Regions from separate parts of the Homo sapiens genome. Here region 1 is linked to region 2. The links are contacts of gene promoters, found by promoter capture Hi-C in blood cells and fetal thymus (Javierre and others, 2016). All regions are on one chromosome and are shown on one strand. The core of a region is centred on a gene start or on the middle of the fragment in contact, and the rest is flanking DNA. Distances in the headings are between cores, read along the strand shown.

Region 1 (3,003 bases), core at 438-2,937, 130 kb before region 2:
CATTAATCATTAAATAAATACTCCTTGAGCATCTGTTATTCATCATTTGAAGAGTCTAGGAGACAGACTGACCCCTCAGAGCTATTGTTCCCTCTCCATCTGCCCTCCAAGCTAAGCCCTACAAGGCTTGAGCATTAGGACCAACCCACTTCCCCAGCCCATTTGCCTTCAGGCTTCCAAATGACATCAGCCTAACCTAAAAAGTGCCTCTTACATTCTCCTTCAGCTGAAAATGATTTAACATGAAGAGCTTTGCACACACAAGACTGGAAACACACAGTGGAATTTCTCTTATGTCCTTATTTCTCAGTCTCCACATCTTCCCTGTCACATGACTTCCTTCTTGAGGAAGATTTGAACAAAAGAAGAGACTGAACTGTGCTTGGTCTCTCTAGGTTAACTACTGGCAGATTTCATATTTCTAAATTTATTACATTATTGGGTAACATAAAGCCAATCTCACATTCAATCTTTTCCTCTTTTACCATGGGATATTCAGATAAACTTGAGCTAAAGCAAAGTAAAAATTGCCACCATTTTTCTTTCTACCTGAAATAACCATGAATAAGTTAAGATGAATAAAGCACTTTAAGTGGTTCTTCCATCACAGAATTATGTAGAATTGGGAGCTTTGGGTCCCCTATTGAAATATTCCTATTGCCTCTTCTATTTATTGGTAATCTCAATATGAGATTAAGAGCAAAGCCTGGATTGTGAGTCTATTCAGTCTCTAGACTTTGTTCTTGCTTTGCTAGTTACTCAAATATCTCAACTGCTAGAATGACAAATATGGATGGGAAATAGAGATTTCAGAATTGAAATATAGACAACATTCTAGCCCAACAGGTAACTTTGCACAAGTCCTGGAGTTTCCCTGAGCCCTCATCTTACCAACTGTGAAACACAAACAATAGGAGCTTCCTCTGTACAGTAGGTGCAGTTGCTGAGAGGATTGGCTGCAATCCTCCATGTAAAGCTCTACAAGGCGCAGACAGGAGCTCAATGTATATCAGCTCTCAGTTTTGCTGAGCTTGCTATGCAGTCTTCAGGATGTGAGTAGGGGAAGAGGCATGTTAGAGAGTCTAAGGAACTTGACTTTCTCCCTGGTTACCTATTTGACACTATGGGACATCATATTGACTCACAGAGACAATATGTTTACTAATATCCTAAACAAAGCCATGAATCTCTCTAAGGAAAACAATCTGATTGCAATGTCATCTGGATTAATGGCACAGGTAAATGAGAAGTGATTACTTGCAGCCGGGCATAGTGGCTCACACCTGCAATCCCAGAACTTTGGGAGGCTGAAGTGGGTGGATCACCTGAGGTCAGGAATTCAAGAACAGCATGGCCAACATGGTGAAACCCTACCTCTACTAAAAATACAAAAATTAGCTGGGCTTGGTGGCACACGCCTGTAATCCCAGCTACTAGGGAGGCTGAGGCAGGGGAATTGCTCGAACCTGGGAGGTGGAGGTTGCAGTGAGCCGAGATTGAGCCACTGCACTCCAGCCTGGGTGACAGAGAGGGACTTCCCCCGACCAAAAAAAAAGAAGTGATTTAGTATCTTTGTCAAAAAATTCATTTTAGGACTTTTTTAGAATGTGGTTGACAAGCATTTTCTTTAAATGATCAGCTAGTAAATATTTCAGGCTTTGCAACCAAATGGTTTCTGTGGTAACTATCTAACTGCCATTGTACCACAAAAGTAGGTGATAAGAAAATGCATGCACATGAATTTGTTTCAATAAGTCTTTATTTACAAAAATAGTTTGGGGCTCTATTTGGGGAGGAACACTCAAGAAACAGAAGGAAGTGGGCATTGTGTAAACCCACAGGACACTACAGCTTCTTTCAAGGATTTGTGAAAGATGGTGGCCATACCCTGCTGATGTTGGCAGCTCTTCAACTTGCATCCAGATGAGAAAAATATGTTACAGTTTCCCTTCTCCACCCAAAATTCAATCAGTTTCTCCTCTGCCAGGGCCAGAGTCTCCTACTGTGAAGCTAAGCAAATTATACCCCCTCCTCGAGTTCCCAGCTCTGGGCATCACGCCTGCATTCTTGGGGTCTCTCTCTAAGGCTAGATATTGGGGAAATGATTACTATGACCAATGCAGTAGTTTGTAATTAAATCTTTTGTGTGGAAAAAAAAACCTGAAAACCTAAAGAAACCTCTGTTTTTTCACTTCTTATTGTGGACTGAAGGGTGTAAGGATAGCAAACTAGAAGAGAAGACTGTGGTGTTTTACAATTCCTGCCTCCCTTGCCCCCTCCTTCAGAATAGATTCTCCTGTTCTTTGATACTACTTATCCATAGATCTAATTATCTATAGAATCAATAGAATCCTTCTTTCATGCCATCTCTACCTCCAGGCAATTTTTTGACATCAGCGGGGACTCACTCAATTTTAAAGTGATTGTTAACAATTTGCCTTCAGACTCTCCAATTCAATCCTTCCTCCTTAATCTGCAAGTGAGCCTCCCTAAAGTACAAATCCAATCATGTCATTCTTTGCTCAAGAGCCTTCATTATTTTTGTTGTTCATTCATGGCCTGATGACATCCAAATTCCTTATCCTGATCCTCAAGGCTGTCACCACCCGGTGATACTTAGTGAACATGACATGGAACTCAAGGGGGAAAAATATGAGCAGAGAGCTGTTGATTTGGCAAGAACGAAGGAAGATGTGGTCTTACCAGCACAATTTCAACAGATTTGTTAGGGTAGAACTCACCAGTCTCAGATAGGGATATCTGGAATGGGGCTGAGAGGGGATTAGAGCAAAGCCAGGTATTGAAGGAAGTTATGCCAGTGTAGCAGTGAAAGGAGAGAAGAAAATGGAAAAGTAGGAACAGTAGATGGCAATGTCAAGCAAAGGAATCCTCAAAATTAAGGAAACTGGACCAGATTTTGAGACTGAAGCAAACACTTCAGTGTTTTTCAGAGAGGGATACTCTGAGGCAGTGCTCACGCTATCACAGCCAGTCATTGATAGG
Region 2 (3,323 bases), core at 254-2,753:
GGAAGTAAGAGGAATTTGGTATCTCTTATCTTGGTGAAATCTTCCCTACCAGAATGTAAGTTACTCAAAGACAGGCAGGGAGTTTTGCCCATTCTGTTTCCTGATCTATCCTTGTAACCACCCAATGGGTTCACCTTGCCCACTGCCTAGACAGAGCTCATTTATCAAGACAGGGGAATTGCAATGGAGAAAGAGTAATTCAGGCAGAGCTGGTTGTGCAGGAGGACTGGAGTTTTATTATTACTCAAATTAGTCTCCCTGAGCATCAGGGATCAGAGTTTTTAAAGATAATTTGGCGAGTAGGGGCTTGGGAAGTGGGGAATGCTGATTGGTTAGGCTGGAGATGGAATCAAATGGGTCGAAGTGAGTTTTTCTTGCTGTCTTCTGTTCCTGGGTGGGATGGCAGAACTGGTTGAGCCAGTTAACGGGTCTGGGTGGTGTCAGCTGATCCATCTAGTGCAGGGTCTGCAAAATATCTCAAGCACTGATCTTAGGTTTTACAGTAGTGATGTTATCCCCGGGGCCAATTTGGGAAGGTTTATACTCTTGGAGTCAGAGGCTGCATGACCCCTAAACAGTAATTTCTAATCTTGCAGCTAATTTGTTAGTCCTGCAAAGACAGACTGGTCCCTAGGCAAAAGGGGGGTCTCTTCAGGAAAGAGCTGCTATTAATTTTGTTTCAGAGTCAAACCATGAACTGAATTCCTTCCCAAAGTTACTTCAGCTTATGCCCAAGAATGGACAAAGACAGCTTAAAGATTAGAAGCAAGATGGAGTCAGGTAGATATGATTTCTTTGACTGTCATAATTTCCTCAGTTATAATTTTGCAAAGACAGTTTTATCATAAGTACAAAGAACAGGGCCTGGGACATAGGTGCCCACTAAATATTTTGCTGAATAAATAGATTTTTTTCCACCACTTATCCTCAGAGTTTACCAGAAGGGTTTGGCCTATGACTTACTATATTTGGTGTGTTACTATTATAAGAACAAAACACATAATATATAATTAATCACAAACAATAATCATATAACGATCATAATATAATAATATAATCAAACACTTATTTAGTACTTATTGTGTGCGAGGTACTGTTTGAAAGACTTGATTTTTATAAACCCATTTAATTCTCCTAATAGACTCAAGAAGTGGCAGCGTTTCTCGCCCCATTTTACAAATAAAAGGTAGAATAGGCTGTAAATGCATAGTTGTGATTTGCTGCTGAATGGATGAGGTAGGAGGGAATGAGCTGGACTTACTGGATTGCATTGGGCAGAAGGGTCCTGCAATCTTGTGCTACAAGAGAAGAAATATTGATTGCTTTGTTGCCATAACATCTTTTGCAAACCAGATCATCTGCATTTCCCACTGCTCCATGGCTGGTTTCTCGTTCCATCAATTTCTTATGCTTTGGCCTCATGTAAATAGTAAACCATGCTTCTGGAATCTCCGCTCCTTTGTTAACAAGTCTTCCAAATAAATGGGCTGTGGGAGTTCATTATTTTAATGGGCAGAGGTAGCCACATTCTTTCCCCAAGAGGCTGCCCTCTGCCACTCACTCCAGGGTCCAACATAAAAAGCCCAGCAATCATTAGAGCTAAACATTTCTGAGCACTAATTGTTCCCTGGAGTGGTGGCGAAAAGAGCCAACCGCTCATCACGGGAGCCTCTTTCCATCCCCCTACCTATTCTTCTCTGAGCTTTCCCTGATTTGAGTCCAGGAAGACTCCCTGCTGGGTTAGTAGATGCCTTTTGCTTAAAAGAAATTTCATCAGAAGTAAATCACACATAAACACACCAAGCCTTGTGCTGAAATATACTGGTTAGAAACACATGTTTCCAACTCTGAGAATTGGGTTTAAATTCTGGCTCTGCCCTTTTATCAATATAAACATGTTCAATGTTGTTTAATGTCTTAAACTTATCAACTCCCTCATTTGTAAAACTGGTGTAACAAGAATACCTACCTCAACAGAGTTGTGATAATTAAATAAGCTGTGAATAAGAAAGGCTTAGCACAGTGCCTAACAAACAGAAATCACTCAATGAATGTAAACTAATGATGTCATTAACTCTGTTTCTTGGGTCATGGCCAAAAATATGTCTTTCCTTTCTATCTTTTTATTGTGACTTATTTGCATCACGATGAAAAGATTTCTTTTCTCTTTATTTTTTTTAATGAGGCTGGATGGGATGAAGGGCTTGATGGGGCTCTTCTTTTCTCTTTTTAATATTTTGGGTGCTACTACCAGCAATGCCACTACCTGGATGAGTCACTGTGGGCAAGTCAATTAACCCCTCCAGCCTGAGTGAATTGGGCTCACTCTCCAAGAATTCCTCCAGCCCTGAAAGTCTGATGTTTCAAAACATTGATTTCCTGTTTTTTTAAATGTTTTCTTCAGAAATAAAGTTTATAAAAAATGAATTCATCTATTTCATGGAGACTAAGTCAGCAATCCTCAGTCTCAAAAGAAAAAAAATTAAATGAGAGAAATGTCTTCTATATAAAGGGGTATAATTACTGAGACTCTTGACTTACAAGGTAACAGGCTTAATTTAGGGAAGAAATTTAGCAACTAAGACTGTTGACAGAAACGGAGGTAAATGTCTTCAAGAATCAACTGTGAACATGAAAAGGCAAGGAAGTCCATCCTCAAAAGAAACATTCTTATCTAAGTTTGAAGATAAACTGTCCTAGGAAATTCTGATGCTGAAAGAGTAAACCCCAACTAACTATGAAAGAGTTTGATACTGAGTTAAGATCTGGGAAATTTAAAAGGTAGATCTCACAGTTATGAAGGATACATTTTTCTAGGATTAGAAAAGGCTGATAAGGGCCGGGCGCGGTGGCTCATGCCTGTAATCCCAGCACTTTGGGAGGCCGAGGCGGGCAGATCACGAGGTCAGGAAATTGAGACTATCCTAGTTAACACGGTGAAACCCCGTCTCTACTAAAAATACAAACAAAAAAAAAATTAGCCAGGCGTGGTGGCGGGCACCTGTAGTCCCAGCTACTCAGGAGGCTGAGGCAGGAGAATGGCATGAACCCGGGAGGCAGAGCTTGCAGTGAGCCGAGATCGCGCCACTGCACTCCAGCCTGGACGACAGAGAGAGACTCCGTCTCAAAAAAAAAAAGAAAAAGAAAAAGAAAAGGCTGATAAGATAGGGTAGTGATAGATTTCATCTGTCATGGCAACTCTGATTATAGTGATAATGACTATCTACAAAGTAAGATTGAGAATCTTAAGAATAAAGAGCAATAATTTCTTTTGCACCAGTTTGGATGGAGCTGGAGGCCATTATTCTACATGAAGTAACTCA

What was found. Contacts are between HindIII fragments. The CHiCAGO score rates a contact against its expected background, and 5 or more counts as called.
Region 1: a contact is called between a fragment that was not itself captured here and the fragment with the promoter of OR5A2 in region 2, in 2 of 17 cell types (total B cells and M0 macrophages). The highest score is 6.2, in total B cells.

Annotation. Positions count from the first base shown.
Region 1 is chr11:59,299,412-59,302,414 of GRCh38, forward strand. No RefSeq gene overlaps it. Among named protein-coding and RNA genes, the nearest start is that of OR5AN1, 58 kb to the right of the region's middle. The HindIII fragment of the contact is 3,668 bases long and covers 1-3,003 here.
Region 2 is chr11:59,424,910-59,428,232 of GRCh38, forward strand. OR5A2 (olfactory receptor family 5 subfamily A member 2) reads right to left here and starts at 1,504. Exons shown (of 2, transcript NM_001001954.2): 1 at 1,262-1,504. The HindIII fragment of the contact is 12,260 bases long and covers 1-3,323 here.